7 separate regions of the Homo sapiens genome follow, and regions 1, 2, 3, 4, 5 and 7 are each linked to region 6. Evidence: promoter capture Hi-C in 16 types of primary human blood cells and fetal thymus (Javierre and others, 2016). All regions are on one chromosome and are shown on one strand. Each heading gives the region's core, a stretch centred on a gene start or on the middle of the fragment in contact. The rest is flanking DNA. Distances are from core to core; before and after follow the strand shown. Region 1 overlaps SETDB1 (SET domain bifurcated histone lysine methyltransferase 1). Region 2 overlaps SETDB1 (SET domain bifurcated histone lysine methyltransferase 1). Region 3 overlaps SETDB1 (SET domain bifurcated histone lysine methyltransferase 1). Region 4 holds the start of LOC105371438 (a long non-coding RNA gene). Region 5 overlaps CTXND2 (cortexin domain containing 2). Region 6 holds the start of ADAMTSL4 (ADAMTS like 4). Region 7 overlaps CTXND2 (cortexin domain containing 2).

Evidence for each region. Contacts are between HindIII fragments. The CHiCAGO score rates a contact against its expected background, and 5 or more counts as called.
Region 1: a fragment that was not itself captured here is called in contact with the fragment with the promoter of ADAMTSL4 in region 6 in 5 of 17 cell types (endothelial precursors, erythroblasts, neutrophils and 2 more); the score reaches 9.6 in endothelial precursors.
Region 2: a contact is called between a fragment that was not itself captured here and the fragment with the promoter of ADAMTSL4 in region 6, in 5 of 17 cell types (activated CD4 T cells, fetal thymus, erythroblasts and 2 more). The highest score is 6.4, in activated CD4 T cells.
Region 3: a contact is called between a fragment that was not itself captured here and the fragment with the promoter of ADAMTSL4 in region 6, in 2 of 17 cell types (erythroblasts and naive CD8 T cells). The highest score is 7.3, in erythroblasts.
Region 4: a fragment that was not itself captured here is called in contact with the fragment with the promoter of ADAMTSL4 in region 6 in 2 of 17 cell types (fetal thymus and erythroblasts); the score reaches 6.9 in fetal thymus.
Region 5: a contact is called between a fragment that was not itself captured here and the fragment with the promoter of ADAMTSL4 in region 6, in 1 of 17 cell types (endothelial precursors). The highest score is 5.9, in endothelial precursors.
Region 7: a fragment that was not itself captured here is called in contact with the fragment with the promoter of ADAMTSL4 in region 6 in 1 of 17 cell types (neutrophils); the score reaches 5.1 in neutrophils.

Annotation. Positions count from the first base shown.
Region 1 is chr1:150,927,119-150,929,932 of GRCh38, forward strand. SETDB1 (SET domain bifurcated histone lysine methyltransferase 1) reads left to right here. Exons shown (of 22, transcript NM_001366418.1): 2 at 586-856. The coding sequence starts at 597. Among named protein-coding and RNA genes, the nearest start is that of SETDB1, 2.2 kb to the left of the region's middle. The HindIII fragment of the contact is 3,618 bases long and covers 1-2,814 here.
Region 2 is chr1:150,961,701-150,964,473 of GRCh38, forward strand. It overlaps SETDB1 (SET domain bifurcated histone lysine methyltransferase 1), which reads left to right. Exons shown (of 22, transcript NM_001366418.1): 17 at 430-458; 18 at 887-1,019; 19 at 1,274-1,439; 20 at 1,830-2,041; 21 at 2,295-2,383; 22 at 2,547-2,773. The coding sequence ends at 2,664. Among named protein-coding and RNA genes, the nearest start is that of CERS2, 12 kb to the right of the region's middle. The HindIII fragment of the contact is 977 bases long and covers 1,033-2,009 here.
Region 3 is chr1:150,943,963-150,946,738 of GRCh38, forward strand. It overlaps SETDB1 (SET domain bifurcated histone lysine methyltransferase 1), which reads left to right. Exons shown (of 22, transcript NM_001366418.1): 8 at 1-31; 9 at 956-1,146. Among named protein-coding and RNA genes, the nearest start is that of SETDB1, 19 kb to the left of the region's middle. RefSeq lists an enhancer at 147-291 and a cis regulatory region at 219. The HindIII fragment of the contact is 8,160 bases long and covers 1-2,776 here.
Region 4 is chr1:150,979,193-150,981,892 of GRCh38, forward strand. It overlaps LOC105371438 (a long non-coding RNA gene), which reads right to left and starts at 2,313. Exons shown (of 3, transcript XR_922135.3): 1 at 2,229-2,313; 2 at 2,012-2,121; 3 at 766-894. It also overlaps a transcript of ANXA9 not described here. The HindIII fragment of the contact is 1,084 bases long and covers 817-1,900 here.
Region 5 is chr1:150,904,506-150,907,205 of GRCh38, forward strand. All of the region lies in intron 1 of CTXND2 (cortexin domain containing 2), which reads left to right. It overlaps LOC107985204 (a long non-coding RNA gene), which reads right to left. Exons shown (of 3, transcript XR_001738231.2): 2 at 2,497-2,586. Among named protein-coding and RNA genes, the nearest start is that of CTXND2, 19 kb to the left of the region's middle. The HindIII fragment of the contact is 6,110 bases long and covers 1-2,700 here.
Region 6 is chr1:150,548,082-150,550,781 of GRCh38, forward strand. It overlaps ADAMTSL4 (ADAMTS like 4), which reads left to right and starts at 1,327. Exons shown (of 19, transcript NM_019032.6): 1 at 1,327-1,418; 2 at 1,741-1,814. LOC124904417 reads left to right here and starts at 2,209. Exons shown (of 1, transcript XM_047438226.1): 1 at 2,209-2,700. The coding sequence starts at 2,209. ADAMTSL4-AS2 (ADAMTSL4 antisense RNA 2) reads right to left here. Exons shown (of 6, transcript NR_187269.1): 6 at 483-669. RefSeq lists silencers at 512-806, 738-887, 1,058-1,197 and an enhancer at 2,533-2,700. The HindIII fragment of the contact is 42,411 bases long and covers 1-2,700 here.
Region 7 is chr1:150,887,498-150,890,361 of GRCh38, forward strand. All of the region lies in intron 1 of CTXND2 (cortexin domain containing 2), which reads left to right. It also overlaps a transcript of LOC107985204 not described here. Among named protein-coding and RNA genes, the nearest start is that of CTXND2, 1.8 kb to the left of the region's middle. The HindIII fragment of the contact is 3,730 bases long and covers 1-2,864 here.

The sequences.
Region 1 (2,814 bases), core at 315-2,814, 380 kb after region 6:
GATTATTTTTAAAGTTCGGTTTGTTTTGAGACAGGGTCTCACTTTGTCACCCAAGCTGGAATGCATGGCGCGAACATAGCTCACTACAGCAGCTACTCCTGGGCTCAAGCGATCCTCCCACTTCAGCCTCCTGAGTAGCTGGAACTAAAGGCGTGCACCACCACACGTGGCTAATTTTTGTATTTTTTTGTAAAGACGAGTCTTGCCATGTTGCCCAGGCTGGTCTTGAACTCCTGCCCTCAAGCGACCCTCCTGCCTCGGCCTCTAAAAGTGCTGAGATTACAGGTGTAAGCCACTGTGCCAGCCCAAAACATTATTTTCAGTAGCTCTCTACTGCTTAATGAATGTTCTCCATGCCGTCTCAAACTCTTAAATCTTTTTCAGGAGTGTTAGCGTACAGCAGAAGATAAGAACTCTTAAAAATCTCAGCATCAGATTCTGGAGAATAGGGAGGGAGAACATGGAATATTTGAATAGAATAACAGGCAGCAGAGTAGGAATTAGTTTTATTAGGGAACTGAAATTCTCTATTGATTGATTGTAGTTATAAGGACTCCAATTTAATTTGTTTTCTGTTCCATGCAGAGGACAAAAGCATGTCTTCCCTTCCTGGGTGCATTGGTTTGGATGCAGCAACAGCTACAGTGGAGTCTGAAGAGATTGCAGAGCTGCAACAGGCAGTGGTTGAGGAACTGGGTATCTCTATGGAGGAACTTCGGCATTTCATCGATGAGGAACTGGAGAAGATGGATTGTGTACAGCAACGCAAGAAGCAGCTAGCAGAGTTAGAGACATGGGTAATACAGAAAGAATCTGAGGTGGCTCACGTTGACCAACTCTTTGATGATGCATCCAGGTGAGAACTCCATGGAAAATAGAAGGAAATCTCTCCATTGGGAGATGTTTTTAGAGAATAATTGTTCATGACATTGAACCAAGCATTTTATTTTATGTTTTGAGACGGAGTCTCGCTCTGTCACCCAAGCTAGAGTGCAGTGGAGTGATCCTGGCTCACTGCAACCTCCACCTCTCGGGTTCAAGTGATTCTCCCACCTCCCCCTCCCGAGTAGCTGGAATTATAGGCATCCGCCACCACACCCAGCTAATTTTTTATATTTTTAGTAGAGACAGGGTTTCACCATGTTGGCCAGGCTGTGTACCAAACATTTTATACTTTATGAAGTACAGATGTTTAGAACCTTACTCTTCCTCAAAGTTTATGGTCAAAAATCTGACCTTACAATCAGCCGTAAATATAATTTTCATCTGTCAGCAGCTAATACATGATCAGCAGTAAGGGAGTCCAAGTCTTAAGTCCTTTCCCCTTCTTCCTCCTGTGCTCTATCTTAGAACAATTGCTTCATTTCCCTAGTAAGATCATCCAGGGAGTGAGGATTGTAAAGAATTTCTGTCTTACGTAACTCTGAAGCATTAGTAAGTTCCCATACCCCCAAAAGATTTGTTTCTGGTGCTCTAGTTGTCACTTAGAATACATTGTTTTTAAATTTATTATACTTTAAGTTCTAGGGTATATGTGCACAACGTGCAGGTTTATTACATATGTATACATGTGCCATGTTGGTGTCACTTACATTAGGTATATCTCCTAATACTATCCCTCCCCCTTCCCCCCACCCCACGACAGGCCCCAGTATGTGACGTTCCCCATCCTGTGTCCAGGTGTTCTCATTGTTCAATTCCCACCTATGAATGAGAACGTGCGGTGTTTGGTTTTCTGTCCTTGCTATAGTTTGCTCAGAATGATGGTTTCCAGCTTCATCCATGTGCCTACAAAGGACATGAACTCATCCTTTTTTATGGCTGCATAGTATTCCATGGTGTATATGTGCCACATTTCTTAATCCAGTCTATCATTGATGGACATTTGGGTTGGTTTAAAGTCTTTGCTATTGTGGATAGTGCCGCAATAAACATACGTGTGCATGTGTCTTTATAGCAGCATGATTTATAATCCTTTGGGTATATACCCAGTAATGGGATTGCTGGGTCAAATGGTATTTCTAGTTCTAGATCCTTGAGGAATCGCCACACTGTCTTCCACAATGGTTGAACAAGTTTACAGTCCCACCAACAGTGTAAAAGTGTTCCTGTTTCTCTACATCCTCTCCAGCACCTGTTGTTTCCTGACTTTTTAATGATCGCCATTCTAACTGGTGTGAGACGGTATCTCATGGTGGTTTTGATTTGCATTTCTCTGATGGCCACTGATAATGAGCATTTTTTTATTTTATTTTTATTTTATTTTATTTTTTTTTTAGACAGAGACTTGCTCTGTCTCACCCAGGCTGGAGTACAGTGACGTGATCTCGGCTCACTGCAGCCTCCGCCTCCCGAGTTCAAGCAGCTCTCCTGTCTCAGCCTCCGGAGTAGCTGGGACGACAAGCGTGTGCCACCACACCCGGCTAATTTTTGTATTTTTAGTAGAGATGGAGTTTTACCATGTCGGCCAGGCTGGGGAGGTCAAATTCCTGACCTCAAGTGATCTACCTGCCTCAGCCTCCCAAATTGCTGGGATTGCAGGTGTGAGCCACCACTGCCAGCCAGGATACATTTTCAGATAACAGCAAGGTAAATAATGAGGTAAGGGTGAAAGTACTGTACTTTGGGCTTACTTTGGATTTTTGAGGAACTAGTCTGGAAACTAAACCACTATTTAAAACATTTTTCTATAGAAAAAGCATTCTAAATTCTAAACAGAGACACTTTGGAATGTGGCCCATTTAAATTGAGGACTGTCTATACTTAAATATATATACATCGTAATGGATTCTATATCTCTTAATTCCTCTACTG
Region 2 (2,773 bases), core at 271-2,770, 410 kb after region 6:
TGGACAAGTATCTGATTAATTACAAAATGAAAGATTTATAAGTGATTTTTTAATGTTAAATGCTGTTTCAAGTTATTCACATCATTGTTTCCTTCTACTAAAGTAGAGAAACAAGAATTGATTTTAAGTATCTCTTTGATGATTATGCTGCTTTCCACATTACAGATGGTGAAACTGTCCCTGGTTGATGTAATCCTGCTCGTGGTGTTTTCCATGAGCATTAAGCCCCATCACTGAGAAGGCTTAAAGGCTCCAGCCAGGGAGTGTAGTGAGGATTTCTGTCAAGTTGCAGAGTGGTTTACCCACCCCACTTTAGAATGTGTACCTGTCACTGGCTGATGTTATCTGTGGAGGTCATTTGAAGTCTGATTATTGGACTTGTTACCCGAGGCTGTGAAAGCATTTAACCCTTCACTTGTTCTTTTCCAGGACACTGACGACCGAAACAAGATGTCAGTGTAAGTGCCTTTTGTTTTGTTTTGTTTTGAGACAGAGTCTTGCTTTGTCACCCAGGCTGGAGTGCAGTGGCGTAATCTCAGCTCATTGCAACCTCCCCCTCCCAGGCTCAAGAGATTCTCCCACCTCAGCCTCCCTAGTAGCTGGGACTACGGGTGTGCACCACCATGCCTGGCTAGTTTTTGTATTTTTTGTAGACACGGGGTTTCACCATGTTTCCCAGACTGGTCTTGAACTCCTGGGCTCAAGCGATGCTCCCAAAGGGGATCCTCAGCCTCCCAAAGTGCTGGGATTACAGCCATGAGCTACCGTGTCCAGCCCAGTGCCTGTCTTTTTGACCTGTCTCCAAATCTGCCTTCTCTCAAACCTAGGCTAGAAGCCTAAGAAACAGCCAGTAACCTGTTGGCTTCATTCCTTCCCCTCCCATTAGAGTTACTGAAAGCTCTCGAAATTACGGTTACAATCCTTCTCCTGTGAAGCCTGAAGGACTTCGCCGCCCACCTAGTAAGACTAGTATGCATCAAAGCCGAAGACTCATGGCTTCTGCTCAGTCCAACCCTGATGTAAGTCACCTCAAGCTTATTCAGAGTCTAATAAAGGAAAATGGGCCATTGTCACCTCATCAAGTCCTTCACTATAATTACTGTTAGGTCTTCTCCTACTTCTTTAGCCTTGACTTCCTGCCTTATTTTCTTTCATCCAGCATCTAATCTTCCTCTTGCCACCGCCCTTTCCTGCCAAACCGTGGGTAACAGCAAGGACTTAAAGGAGCCCTTCCCATTTACTTCTCTTACTTCTTACCCTCCTGCTTCCCCAGGATGTCCTGACACTGTCCAGCAGCACAGAAAGTGAGGGGGAAAGTGGGACCAGCCGAAAGCCCACTGCTGGTCAGACTTCGGCTACAGCGGTTGACAGTGATGATATCCAGACCATATCCTCTGGCTCTGAAGGGGATGACTTTGAGGACAAGAAGAACATGACTGGTAGCCTGGAAAAATTTTGGGAATGGTGGGAAGAAATAGTAAGAAACTTGGGATAGAGCATTTTTTAAGGAAGCTAAAGAAGTAGTGGGTAAAAATTCAGATCCTAAGAATTGGAGCATCTCTGGGAGGGCTTTCTGACTCCAAGCTAAACTATTGTTTGACACATCCTCTCTCATTTCCATTTTTTTACTCTTTCCCCTCAGCTCCTTTGTCTAGCAGATCTAATTATGCTTGAAAAAAAAACCTGCTACTTAGGATCTTTGAGTTCCAGCTTATTGGTGTTTCTCAGCTGCAATGTTGGGAGAGAAATAGGGGTAGAATGTCCATTCATGATAGAATGTCTGTTCATGAGTTGGGATGGGTCCTGACCCCATTCTCCCTCCTGTCCAGGTCCAATGAAGCGTCAAGTGGCAGTAAAATCAACCCGAGGCTTTGCTCTTAAATCAACCCATGGGATTGCAATTAAATCAACCAACATGGCCTCTGTGGACAAGGGGGAGAGCGCACCTGTTCGTAAGAACACACGCCAATTCTATGATGGCGAGGAGTCTTGCTACATCATTGATGCCAAGCTTGAAGGCAACCTGGGCCGCTACCTCAACGTGAGACCCCTCTCCCCACCTCTAGATGCTGGATTATCCCATGGTCCTCAGATTTCTTTTAACATACTCTATAAGCCCTTTTCTTGTTATAAACTCTTGATCTCAAAGGATCTTAAAGAGGTAGCTTTCTTTCAAAGCATCTATTATAATGGGGAGGGTCAGATGGCATCATTTTTCTTCCAACTCTCACTCTCCCTGCAAAGCCAGGTTCAGTTTCCCTGGTTCTTATTTGATCCTGTCCTTAAACCTACAGCACAGTTGCAGCCCCAACCTGTTTGTCCAGAATGTCTTCGTGGATACCCATGATCTTCGCTTCCCCTGGGTGGCCTTCTTTGCCAGCAAGTAAGGAGTCAGGAAAGGGGATGACTGGGGAGGGGCAAGGACCACTGAAGTTCTAAGGGCCCCTCCTCCATTCATGATCCAACTCCACCTACATATTCAGTAACCCCAAGTGCCTGGGTTATCTGCTGTCTTTGCCACACACCATCCTTTTCTTCCTCTTCAGAAGAATCCGGGCTGGGACAGAACTTACTTGGGACTACAACTACGAGGTGGGCAGTGTGGAAGGCAAGGAGCTACTCTGTTGCTGTGGGGCCATTGAATGCAGAGGACGTCTTCTTTAGAGGACAGCCTTCTTCCCAACCCTTCTTGAACTGTCGTTTCCTCAGGAACTGGGTCTTCCTGATTGTTGAACCCTGACCCGAAGTCTCTGGGCTAGCTACTCCCCCCAGC
Region 3 (2,776 bases), core at 76-2,575, 400 kb after region 6:
CAGTCGGAACTGTATCCCATTTGCCGGCCACGTGAGTGTTTCTCCCTTATTCCTTAGCTCAGTTTTCTCCTCTACCTTGTATTTCTTCTTAGGACATCCAGTTGAAAAGCCCTAGTGTTTTTGGTATTTCAGTCTCAAAGAGCATAAGTTTGGTTGATGTCTTTTGCTCCCAAAGGTCAGTTTGCTCCCAAAAGAGATACAGTTTTATTGTTCATCTCCAGGACTGGGTCTTTGTAGACAAAGAGTGAGACACTAGAAGATCATGAATGGCCTTGAGTAGACTGCTCACGTTATAGATGTGCTTCAATTTCATTTCTAAGTGAGTTACGTTGGAAAAGGTGTTACTTCTTTCCTAGTGTCATACTGCACCTAACATTTGTATAAATGTGTAGTCTGCATAATGCTTTCCACAGAAGCTGTGTTAGATGGAACCTCATAGTGTCCACTATATTTGTTACCCTGGCTTGGGAGCAGACTCCTATGGAAACAATCATTTTTAACTGCAGAAGAATCAACTAACACTTTTGTTTACACATAACATGACAGTAAACACATTCTGAGTCTCTTAAAAACCTGATAGAGAATGAGAAGGAAGGACTAATTTTTTTCATTTCATGATGCCACCTGATCTTTTTAAATTTACCACTAGACTGATCAACAAGTGAGCAAGAATTTCCACTTGAATTTTCCAGAGGAGAAACATCCATTTGTGTAAAATAAGTGAATCACCTATATTGTACATTTCTTATTTAGTATTTACTTGATTTGTAAGTATGTACAGTTTGTACATTAGGTTTATTACTTAGGTGGTCTTGGCTTTGCTTCCCTTGAGGTTCTGATTTTACTTTTTCTCTCCTTTTCAACTTAAAAAGTATCAAATGTCTCCTGGCCAAGTCTTTTCCCTATCAAGACATGCCCTACCTGCCCTCTCAGTTCTACTTCTTCCTTGAAACAGTGAAAAAGACTTGGGAGGACATAGAAGACATCTCCTGCCGTGACTTCATAGAGGAGTATGTCACTGCCTACCCCAACCGCCCCATGGTACTGCTCAAGAGTGGCCAGCTTATCAAGACTGAGTGGGAAGGCACGTGGTGGAAGTCCCGAGTTGAGGAGGTGGATGGCAGCCTAGTCAGGATCCTCTTCCTGGTACTGTTCTTCTCTACAATTTTGGAGGCAGAGGTTGGTGGGGGGGGAACTTAAGAAGCAGTAATGAGGATGGTTTTATAGCTATTCCATAGCCTTCCTCTTTCTTATCCTCGTATGTGTTCTCACTGTTTTTGGTCAAATTTTACTTTGCCCTTTTTGTTGTTCCTCTGCAGGTCATTGTTGAAAATAAATTATCTGAATTATAATACGAATCTGCATGGTTTTGATTTATTTATTTTTTTTCTTTAGGAGTATTCACATTGTGTGTAGGTACAGAAAGGGCAGCCAATTCCATTTTTCCAGGGTTAAGGTTTTAGTAGGATAGTGGGACGAAGAAGAGGGATCAAGGAGTCCTGATTATCTTTCAAGGCTCAGTTTAACTCTTAGGTATTTTGTACTCATCCTTTTCTCCCTTCTCTCTCCCTTCTTAGAATCATATTTCTTATTTTTAAAAGTTTTAAAAACATTTTTTAATACTGCTGCTTGCAGAACAAGGCTACCTGATAGGCAGTGTGCCCAGAGTAGCCAGAAGAAATTAGAAGTTATATTTCTTCTTGGTGTTACCTCAGCCCGTTACTTCTAAGGCCTTATGATCCTTATCATGCTTTTTGTTTGGTGTTTTGTTTTGTTTTCAGACGGAGTTTCACTCTTGTTGCCCAGGCTAGAGTGCAATGGCACGATCTCGGCTCACTGCATCTTCCGCCTCCTGGGTTCAAGTGATTCTCCTGCCTCAGCCTCTCGGGTAGCTGGGACTGGCTAATTTTTTGTATTTTTAGTAGAGACGGGGTTTCACCATGTTGGCAGGCTGGTCCCGAACTCCTGACCTCAAGTGATCCACCTGCCTTGTCCTCCCAAAGTGCTGGGATTACAGGCGTGAGCCACCACGCCTGGCCTGTTTTGTTTTGTTTTGTTTTGTTTTGTTTTGTTTTTTGAGACAGTCTCACTCTGCCACCCAGGCTGGAGTGCAGTGGTGCAATCACAGCTCACTGCAGCCTCAACCTCCAGGGTTCAAGTGGTCCTCCCACATCAGCCTCCCAAGTAGCTGTGACTACAAGTGCATGCCACCACACCTGGCTGATTTTTGTATTTTTAGTAGAGACGGGTTTCGCCATGTTGCCCAGGCTGGTCTCGAACTCCTGAGCTCAAGCAGTCTGTCTGCCTCATCCTTTCGACATACCAGGATTATAGGTGTGAGCTATTGTGCCCAGCTGTCATACCTCTTATACTCAGTATAGATATCTGTTGCTCCTGTAATTCCTTAAACAAGGAGTATATATTTTTCATTGTTGTGTTCCTGATACCCATCATGGATCCTGGCACATACTTTATTAAGTAGATAAGGAATTTTTTTTTGGGGGGGATGGAGTTTCGCTCCTGTTGCCCAGGCTGGAGTACGATGGTGCAGTCTCGGCTCACCACAACCTCCGCCTCCCTGGTTCAAGCAATTCTCCTGCCTCAGCCTCCCGAGTAACTGGGATTACAGGCATGCGCCACCACACCCGGCTAATTTTGTATTTTTAGTAGAGACGGGGTTTCTCCATGTTGGTCAGGCTGGTCTTGAACTCCCAACCTCGGGTGATCCACCTGCCTCAGCCTCCCAAAGTGCTGGGATTACAAGCTACAGGCGTGA
Region 4 (2,700 bases), core at 109-2,608, 430 kb after region 6:
ACTTCGCTTCTGCCATGTGACTGAGACTCTGTTGGACTTCTCCAAATTCAGAGTTCAGCCTGGCATGCCGGCCAGGAGCCCCTTGGAGAGATTCGGCGTGAGGAAACAGGAGGCCTCACGCTTCCTTCGGTTCTCCCTAAATCTGCTGGGCAGGTAGCCAGAAGAAACTCTGAAGGGTACAGAAAGCCGAGGGCCAGGGGGACCCCGGCTGCGGAGCTGCAGTACCGTGTTTACCCAGCCTAACTGCGGTCACCCAGTCTCCTGCATGTGTCTGAGGTCAGCCTCGGGGGCTCCCCTGAGTAGGTATCTACCTGAGGCTCTTCCCCTGATGCTACCTGCATACCAATTCCACCCAGGAACCTGGCGTCCTCAGGAGGCTGCACTTCCCAAGTGGGCTGAGACAGCCCCTTAATATGTGGGGCTGGAGCCAGAGACCTCAAGGGGCCACTAGGGGGCTCGAGACTCTCAGTGGCTGCTGACGCCCTCTTGTGGCCATTTTGGGGATTGGCCAGAAAAGTTTCAGAAGCGAGCCAAGATCGGAATTCTTAAGGAGGTAAGTAATAACAACAGTAACAGTTACCATATAACAATACTTATCGTTATATATTTGATAACATTGTGACATTTCTACTTAACAGCGCTGTGCCCAGAACTCTTCTAAGTGCTTTATATGCACTGTAGTTATTTAATTCTCACAACAACCTATAACATAAACACTATTACTTGTCTGTTGATGATGAGGAAACTGAGCACAGAATAGTTGCCCAAGGTCACACAGAAGACCAGAATCCCGACTCTGAGAAGTCTGGCTCCAGAAGCTTTGCTTTTAGCCACCACGCTGAGACTGAGTTCCATTTTGGGGTTGTCAGGTGAAATACAGGACACACTGTTAAACTATAATTTCAGATAAACAAAAAATAATAATTACAGGCGGTGGCTCACGCCTGTAATCCCAGCACTTTGGGAGTCCAAGGCAGGTGGATCACGAGGTCAGGAGTTCGAGACCAGCCTGGCCAACATGGTGAAACCCTATCTCTACTAAGAATACAAAAAATTAGCCAGGCATGATGGCAGGCGCCTATAATCCCAGCTACTCGGGAGGCGGAGGCAGGAGAATCGCTTGAACCCGGGAGGTGGAGCTTGCAGTGAGCCAACATAATGCCACTGCACTCCAGCCTGGGCAACAGAGAGAGACTCCGCCTCAAAAAAAAAAATGTTAGTATATTTAATGAAATATTTGGGTCATACTTGTACCAACAAATGATTCCTCATTTACGTGAAATTCTGATTAAGCTGCATGTCCTGTATATTTATTTATTTAATCTAATACCCCTACTTTACAGGGCACTTTTCTCTGCCACATGCAATTACACAGATTACTTTTTTTTTTTTTTTTTTTTTTTGAGACGGAGTCTCACTCTGTCGCCCAGGCTGTGGAGTGCAGTGGCGCCATCTCAGCTCACTGCAACCTCTGCCTCCCAGGTTCAAGTGATTCTCCTGCCTCAGCCTCCCGAGTAGCTGGGATTACAGGCATGCGCCGCCATGCCCGGCTAATTTTTTGTATTTTTAGTAGAGACGGGGTTTCACTGTGTAAGCCAAGGCTGGTCTCGATCTCCTGCCTCATGATCCACCCGCCTCGGCCTCACAAAGTGCTGGGATTACAGGCATGAGCCACCGTGCCTGGCCACATTACCTTATTTATTTATTTATTTATTTATTTATTTTTATGAGTTCAATAGTTTTTGGGGACAAGGTGGTGTTTGGTTACATGGATAAGTTCTTTAGTGGACACATTACTTCATTTAATCATCCCAGGAAACCTGTCCTCGGAGGCCCCAGCATGTCCCACAGCCTCCGTCTCTCTCAATCCTCCCATTTAGAGAGCTGAAAGGACTAGCGAAGCTTACAGAACATAGGTGGCAGAGCTGGATATTGAACCCTCATTCTCCAGTTCTGACACAGGTGCATGTTTTCCTTTTAACAGGAGAGAAAAGTGAGGAGCAGTGATTACCGCCACAGAAATATCCTTTCATGGCGTGTCCTCCGGCATGGTCTACTCAGTGTGGTGGAGCCACTGCAGGTCCCTCCTCCAGGGATGTAGGAATGCCAGTGAAGGCCTTCCTGAGTTGGGAGAGAGGCAGAGGAGTGAGTGGAGGCAGGGCTGTAGCTTCTGTGCCCCGCCCCTACCCAGGCTCTCCAGGGAGGCAGGAAAGAGGCTGTGTTTAGACCTGAGGGAGCCAGCTGTGAGGCTGGAGCAGTTGCTGCATGGCGGGGCGGGGGCTCCACAGGGCTGTTCACCTGCTGCTCTGTGCAGAGACAGCCTCAAGTCCAGCTGCTGGGGTTGCATCACCTGCAGCTAAAACAGCCACAGGGCCCAGGCTGCCAAAAGGCAACAGAAGCAATCTAAGAAACCAGGCAAGGGAGCCTCCCCCATCTCCCTGTTGCCTTTTGGGAGCATAGAGCTTCCCTCTGAAGGTAACACCCTTTGCATTTTTCTCTCTTGACTCTGTTCATCAACTTCCACTCCCAAATACTTGTGCCCTTCCTTCTCCACAGATATACACAATCCCTGGGCACTCTCCACCTAGGTCAGCTGGCTCTAGTAAGGCAGCAGTCAAGGGAGTTTCTGGGCTGGGACCCCCTCTGGGGTGCAGGCTGGGGTGCCCTGCTGGTATGTGCCCCAACAGGTTTTTCCCTATC
Region 5 (2,700 bases), core at 126-2,625, 360 kb after region 6:
ATCTTCAAACTTACTGGAGATTGGTTTTATATTTAGATTTATATAACTGGTTATGTGAATATATTTGAATACTGGAGAAATTCCTTCACTGTCTCAGAACCAAGCAAGATTCACCTGTGTTTTGTGTCCATAAAGGCAAGGGTTGAAGATAAATAAGGTAGTAATGTCTACTTTATATTTTTGGCCTTAACTATGCCAATCTAATTAGAATTCCCTGTATTTAAAATGGTTCCTTTTACTTATTGAAAGACATTTTAGTGTGTTTTATGTGTAATATCAAAGATTATTTAGCATTTCTCACATTTTATAAATGATCTATAAGGTCACATGCTTTTAAAATAGTAGCAAGTTAAACTTCACTCTTGAATGCTTGTCAAACTAAGTTATAATTTAGGATAGTCTTTAAACAGCCATTCAGAAACATAAAACTGTAGAACTGCTATGTATTTGTGATTGGGAATGATGCTTTTGCCAACTTAAAAGGATTAAAGTAGAGGAGATACACACAAATTTTAAAATTATGTGTGATCATAAGACAAGATAATCAAAAAGAAAACCACACACACACACACACACACACACACACACACACACACACAAATCACCCTTCATAAGGAACTTGCAGAATCTGCCAATTCTTTTTTTTTTTTTTTTTTTAGGCCGAGTTTCATTCTGTTACCCAGGCTGGAGTGCAAGGGTGTAATTTTGGCTCACTGCAACTTCTACCTCCCGGATTCAAGTCATTCTCCTGCATCAGCCTCCCAAGTAGCTGGGACTACAGGCACACACCACCATGCCCAGCTAGTTTTTGTATTTTTAGTAGAGATGAGGTTTCACCATGTTGGCCAGGCTGGTCTCGGACTCCTGACCTCAGGTGATCCCCCCCAACCTCGGCCTCCCAAAGTGCTGGGATTATAGGCATGAGCCGTGGCACCCGGCCTTATCTGCCCATTCCATCTGCACATCTGGGAGGAGTCCAGGGGGTGGCATGAAAACCCAGTGTAAAAGATATGAGTGCAACTTACCCTGTTGCCCCAGAATTGTGGTCAAGTCTTATTGAAGGCACAATACTACTTATAATCTAAAGAAAGCTGCAACAATTAGAGCCAGAACCTCTTCCAAATCTCATGAGAAGATGGCGTAGTCAATCGTATATCCACCAACTCCCACCCCTTGTCCCACCACAGTATATATAAAGAATAAGGCCGGGCGCAGTGGCTCACGCCTGTAATCCCAGCACTTTGGGAGGCCGAGACGGGCAGATCACGAGGTCAGGATATCGAGACCATCCTGGCTAACACGGTGAAACCCCATCTTTACTAAAAATACAAAAAATTAGCCGGGTGTGGTGGCAGGCACCTGTAGTCCCAGCTGCTCGGGAGGCTGAGGCAGGAGAATGGCGTGAACCCGGGAGGCGGAGCTTGCAGTGAGCTGAGATCACACCACTGCACTCCAGGCTGGGCGACAGAGCGAGACTCCATCTCAAAAAAAAAAGAAGGATGAACTGGGGCCGGGTGTGGTGGCTCATGCCTATAATCCCAGCACTTTGGGAAGCTGAGGTGGGCAGAGGGTTGCTTGAGCCCAGGAGTTTGAAACCAGCCTGGGCATCATAGTAAGGCCTCGTCTCTACAAAAAATTTAAAAATCAGCCAAGTATGGTGGTGGGCACCTGTAGTCACAGCTATCCAGGAGGCTGAGGCAGGAGGATCACTTGAGCCCAGGAGGTTGAGGCTGCATTGAGCTATGACCATGCCACTGCACTCCAGCCTGGGTGACAGAGTGAGACCCTACCTCAAAAACAACAACAACAACAACAAAAAGAATGAACTGGGAGGGCAACTGGGAATTCTCATTATCGGCATTATGGGATGTACAAAATTTGTGATGAGAAGCAAAGATAAAAGTACTTCCCCTTCCTCCCAAAGCCAAAGATGAGGGCATGCCAAGAGAGACATTGGTACAATTGGTGACACCAGCAAGGAGAGACTAACAGCATTTCATTCCCTAGATAGATGCTTTAAACTGTAGAACCTGCCAAACCACTCTGGTCAGGTTGGAGTAAAGCATGGTGTGAGTTTTTAACCTGTGCAAACATAAAAAATCATGTCAATTTCTTGGCTACAGAGATCTGAAAGTGGAAGGCCCACTGGAATAATCTGTGCTGGCAGGGTTTATAGGTACCTTGGCAGAGTATGCCTAGGAAGAAAATGTGGCCAATCCCCCCAACCCATCACAGTCTGGCCACTCCCCTTGAAGGACTTCAGGTGTCTCCGAAGGAGCAGGAGCAGTGGGAGGTGCCAGGAGACCACTGTACCAAGCCATGTGATATCCAACGTGAGTTTAGGTTGGGAGAATAGAGGATAAGCAGCACCATTTGAAGGGGTCTTCAATGACAGAAAAGTCCAGAATGAAGAGAAACGCTACTCAAAAAACTACAAACATCCTTCACTCTGAAACCACCAGATCTAACCAGAGTAAGACCAGGTCACCTACTCACAGTTGGCCACAGCTGATTCATTAAATAGAGAAACACTTCACATTTTCCCCTTCCTTTCTTCCTGATCCTGTACAATGCAGAAGAAGAAGCCTGAAAAGGGAGAAGAGCTAATAGAACTCTAAATCCTCTATAAGATTAGGAATTTAAAACTGAACTAAGGTTTTACAAAAACCAGCTTTATTAAGATATAATTCACATACAATT
Region 6 (2,700 bases), core at 77-2,576:
CTTGTGGTTAAAAAAATTCACAAAAATAACATTACATAGCTGGGTGCGGTGGCTCACGCCTGTAATCCCAGCACTTTGGGAGGCCGAGGCGGACGGATCACGAGGTCAGGAGATCGAGACCATTCTGGCTAACACGATGAAACCCCGTCTCTACTAAAAATACAAAAAATTAGCCGGGCGTGGTGGCAGACGCCTGTAGTCCCAGCTACTCAGGAGGCTAGGGCAGGAGAATGGCGTGAACCTGGGAGGCGGAGCTTGCAGTGAGCCAAGATAGCACCACTGCACTCCAGCCTGGACGACAGAGTGAGACTCCGTCTCAAAAAAAATAAATAAATAATAATATAATAATAATAAACATAACGCAGAGTAAAAAGCAAAAGCCTTTTTCAGTCCTCCCCCAACCCTGCATCCCTCCCCAGATGTCACCAATACTACTGAGTTTGGGGTGCATTCTTCCATGTATAAATGCATAAAGAGACATATCCAAGCCCATCATATATATTAGATTAGTCCCATTTTGCAGATGAGCAAACTGCACCACACAGGGGTGGAAGTATTCGTCGAAGACCACATAGCTGGCAAGAGCTGGAGCTGAGGTTCAAATCCAGATCAGTCTGACTCAGAAGTCAGCACGCTGTCCTTTCGCTGAGTCCCGAGTGTAAAACCTTACTGAGGAAAAAAACCGAAGCTCATAGAAGTCCCAGCAATCTGAACCACCACTGCCCAACACGGGAGAGGCAGGAGTGACTGAGTTTGCAGGGGAGGCTGCGTGGAGGGGAGAGCCTGGACCCACGCGGATCGGGGGCCGCGGGTACCTCCGTCCAGGGCGCTTCCCTCCCGGACCAGCGGCTCTCCCAGGCCGCCTCGCTCCAGGCGCCCCTGGAGGCTGCCCCGCCTGTGCCGCGCCGCGCCGCGCCGTGTTCGCACCGCTCACCCGAGCGGCTCGGAGGCCCGGGTTGCTTAAGTCCCTAGTCTCAGCCGGGCACGAGGACAGCGCCCGGGAGCGACTGCAGCCTCTGACCCCGGCTGGGCCAGCCCGGGCTGCTTAAGTCCCTAGTCTCGGCCGGGCACGAGGACAGCGCCCGGGAGCGACTGCAGCCTCCGACCCCGGCTGGGCCAGCCCGGGCTTCAGCTCACGCAGCCGTCGGGGGGCGCCCGGCGCGCAGCCCGGGGTGGGTGGTCCTGGCGAGTGGGGCTGCGAGGCAGACCGGCCCCACCCCGGGGCCGCCGAGGGGCGCGGGCTGGGGCGCGTGGCGGGCGGGGCTGGGCGGGGGCGGGCGCGAGGGCGGAGTTGCGGCCGAGGCGGCCGTGACCGGAGCGCGGCTCAGGGGCCCCAGTGGCCGCCGCGGAGCGAGGTTGCCTGGAGAGAGCGCCTGGGCGCAGAAGGGTTAACGGGCCACCGGGGGCTCGCAGAGCAGGTAGAGACCTCCCCGGGACCCCGGCCCCGGCCGCCCCTCTCCCGGGTCCCGTTAGACCGCCCGCCCCGCGCGCCCGCGTCGTCCCCTCTCCCTGCGCTGTGCGGTCGCGACCCCGCCACGACCCCGGACCCAGCTCCGGTGGCCTCGGACAATCTTCCAGCCCCTGGGGTCGAATTCCTGGGGAGGGAGTCTGATCCCGTGGAACTCTGGCCCCATCACCCGGGCGGGGAGTGAACCAAAATTCCTCCTAAGTCACATAGTAAAGTTGGAAAACAGACCCATGACCTCCCCGCGCGGCCGGTGCCTCCTGCCCTCTCTCTAGGAGGGTGCTCTCGGACGGTGTGTCCCCCACTGCACTCCTGAACTTGGAGGACAGGGTCGCCGCGAGGGACGCAGGTGGGTGCCCTTGATCCAGCTCAGCCCGATGGCAGAAGAGGTTGACAAAAAAGAAAGACACCTGTTGGGGTGGCCTGCCAGACCCAGGAGTGGAGGGCTCTGAGGGCCCGGGAATTCGGACTCAGGACAGGGATTCTCCATGGCTAGGCCCAGAAACACAGGGTCCAACCACTCTCCAGCAGGGAGACCTGGGGGTGAAGGGGTGAGCCCTGCGCAGGTCTCTGTTCCTTGGTCTTCACTGGGCAGTGTGGAGAGGTGTGGCCAGGAGGAGCCCGCGTTTGTCCAGACCAGGGTCTACTCTGGCACCAGAGTGACCACCTCTGACCTCTCCTTTCCTCGTCCTGGGCCGGGAACGACACCAAATGAGGGACATGGAAAGGGGTGAGAAGCATAAATGTGCGTGTGTTTCTGCAGAGGAGGGGGCATGGGCCCCTGCCGGGCTGCGCAGGGGAGGGTGGGGTGGGACTTTTCCAGAGAGGGAGCCAGGCCTGGCCCGGGCCCCGGGAGCTCACGTCACCCCCACCCCTCACTTCTCCAGGGAACTGCCAAAGCCAAACCCAGCTCGGGATGGGATTATGTGTACTGGGTAGACCCGTGGAGAGGGGCTGCGAGAAGAGATCTCGGTGGCAGAGAGAAGCAGAGGCAGAGAGGGCATGAAGAGGGGTCGGCATCAGAGAAGGGGCAGGCAGTGACTATCACCCCATTTCTTCTTCCCTCAGCTGGAGTAACAAGAGTCAGGCAGAGCCTGAAGACTTGGGTGGAACATGGGCCCTTCTCTGGAGATCCTGGCCTCCCCCGTTCAGTCAGGGTGGAGTTGCTGACCTTAGTGGCCGGCCCAGCCAGGGGAAGGAGTGGCCATCGGCAACCCCCACCCCAACCCCAATCC
Region 7 (2,864 bases), core at 267-2,766, 340 kb after region 6:
GCCCAGACTGAACTCAAACTCCTGGTCTCAAGCAACCCGTCTGTCTCAGCCCAAGACCTTTTTCGTTAGAGCTTTTTACGAAAAGTTAAACTTTCATCTGAGAAGGGATGTCTTGAGCATAGTCTCTTTTTGAGGAAAGTTGGGGGGACCTCTGATTAGTCCTATTAGCCAGAGAGTGTCTTTGATTTTAAGGATTATAGTAAAAAAAAGCTGCATTATTGTGTTTCTTCACCATCATCTCTCTCTTTGCACTAAACTTATGGCCAGGAGAGAAAAACTGGGTCTTTTTAGTATTTTGGTCTTCTTCAAGAATGGCAGGTCATTGCAGGTGGGAAGAATGAAGTGATCTGGAAAAGGAACACAGAGAAAGGAAAAGGTAATGGATCTTTCTGGAACTGAAAGTGGAATTGATGTTGCCAAGGATTTGTAAATGCCATTATTCTGATTCTTACTTTAGTAGGTCCAAATTTAACATAAACCAATAGCTTCACACCACACCTCCTTTCTCCTACTATAATCCCAAGAAGTGCTGCTACTCATCTCAAACAAAACAAGAACCTTAAAAGCCACTTAAAAAAAATTCTAAGACAGGTATTCCCTTTGGAAAACAGATTTTAGCTCTACCATTTTTGAAAGTGTATTTCTCAAGAAAAGCTATTTTGCATAAGAATTAAATTTGTTGTGACTTTTCCCCCCATTTTGAAAACATTTTACCTAATTTATTTTTTTTTTTTTTGAGACAGTCTCACTCTGCCGCCTAGGCTGGAGTGCAGTGGCGCGATCTTGGCTCAATACAACCTCTGCCTCCCAGGTTCAAGCAATTCTCCTGCCTCAGCCTCCCGAGTAGCTGGGACTACAGGCGTGCACCACCATGCCTGGCTAATTTTTTGTACTTTTTAGTAGAGACAGGGTTTCACCATGTTGGCCAGGCTGGTCTCGAACTCCTGACCGAAGGTGATCCCCCGCGACCTCGGCCTCCCAAAGTGTTGGGATTACAGGGGTGAGCCACTGCACCTGGCCCTAATTTTGTATTTTAAATCTTTTATTCTTTCCTTAAAGAGAGACCCCCATGTTGTATAAATTTTAGGCCATACAAAATCTGGATCACTGCATATGAAAATGAGTAAAAAATATACATGGCATACTTAGAAACAAAACAGCATTTTCCTTTCTAATAAGAATGTATTTTATTATTTATTTATTTATTTATTTAGACAGGGGCTTGCTTTGTCACCCAGGCTGGAGTGCAGTGGTGCGATCATGGCTTACTGCATCCTTGACCTCCTGGGCTCAATCGATCCTCTCACATCAGCCTCCTGAGTAGCTGGGAGGGACTATAGGTGCGTGCCACCACGCCAGGCTAATTTGATTTTGTTTTTGTTTTTTTGTAGAGATGGGGTCTTGCTATGTTGCCCAGACTGGTCTCGAATTCCTGGGCTCAAGCAATCCACCCGCCTCAGCCTCTCAAAGGGCTGGGATTATAGGAATGAATCACCGTGCCTAGCCGATCTCACTCTACTTCTGAATTCCAGTCCCACATTTTAGCCTCCTGAGCATATTGTATCAGTGCATTTAAATTCAGCCTACCTCAGACTGATTTCATCCTAGTACCTTAAAATATCTGCCACTCCTCTGGGTGCAGTGGCTCACGCCTGTAATCCCAGCACTCTGGGAAGCCGAAGCGGGCGGATCACGAGGTCAGGAGATCGAGACCATCCTGGCTAACAGGATGAGACCCCGTCTCTACAAAAACTTAGCCGGGCGTGGCAGCGGGCACCTGTAGTCCCAGCTACTCGGGAGGCTGAGGCAGGAGAATGGCGTGAACCCGGGAGACAGAGCTTGCAGTGAGCCGAGATCGCACCACTGCACTCCAGCCTGGGCGACACAGCAAGACTCTGTCTCAAAAAAAAAAAAAAAAGCAACTCCTAAAATAAATAATTCTATGAATGGCATCATTTTTCTTTCAGCTTTCCAAATTTAAGCCCAGGAGTTTTCTTTATCACTTCCTTCTTCTTCCCACTACATGTCCACTTAATTTCCAGGTCGTCACAAATTCTCTTTCACAATCTCACATCCATTCTTTCCTTTCTGTTACTCACTGTGTTATCCTAGCCCTTGTTTCCCCTTGTTGAGACTGCTAAAACTCCTCTTGTTGTTTTCACCCTATAGTGTGTGTTAGCTCCAATACTTTTTACGCACTCTTGCCAGTTATCTTCCTGAAGTATGGCTTTGATCATTTACCTGCCTGAATTCAACAAGTATGAACTGTTGTATGCACTATGTGCCAGACACCGATAGAGATTCATATTAATTCATTCATGTAGACGTATTAAATACATAAAATATGCCAGCCCTCCCCAGGCACTGAATCCATGCTATGAATGGGACAGACACCTAGAGCTTACATTCTAGTTAGAATCAATGGGATACACAGTAAGATATGGCCCCTGCTCCCAAAATGTTTATCTGCTCAAAACCTTCCATTGCTTCCCGATACCTGAAAGAACAAAATTCAAAGTCCTTGCCCTGACTTTCAAGGTTCAGTATGGTCCTGTCTTAAGCAACAGAAGTATAGTATCTAGATGAATAATCTTGAGTTTGCATGCATCTTGTATTCTGTATTGGGCACCACATTTTAAAAGGAATATAGACACACTAGAAAATCTTCAGTAGAAAAAGGGTAGAGTGGTAGACCACATCCTCTGAGAAACCAATCAAACGTACTTAATAGCTATTTTTAAATTACTGAAACTCTTGTGTATGGAAAAGATATGTGTTGCCTTAAACAGTCCTAAGTAAAAAGTGAAGCTGTACTAAGAAGACAGATTTGGCTCAAGGTAAAAAATTACTGCCTTCCAGAACCT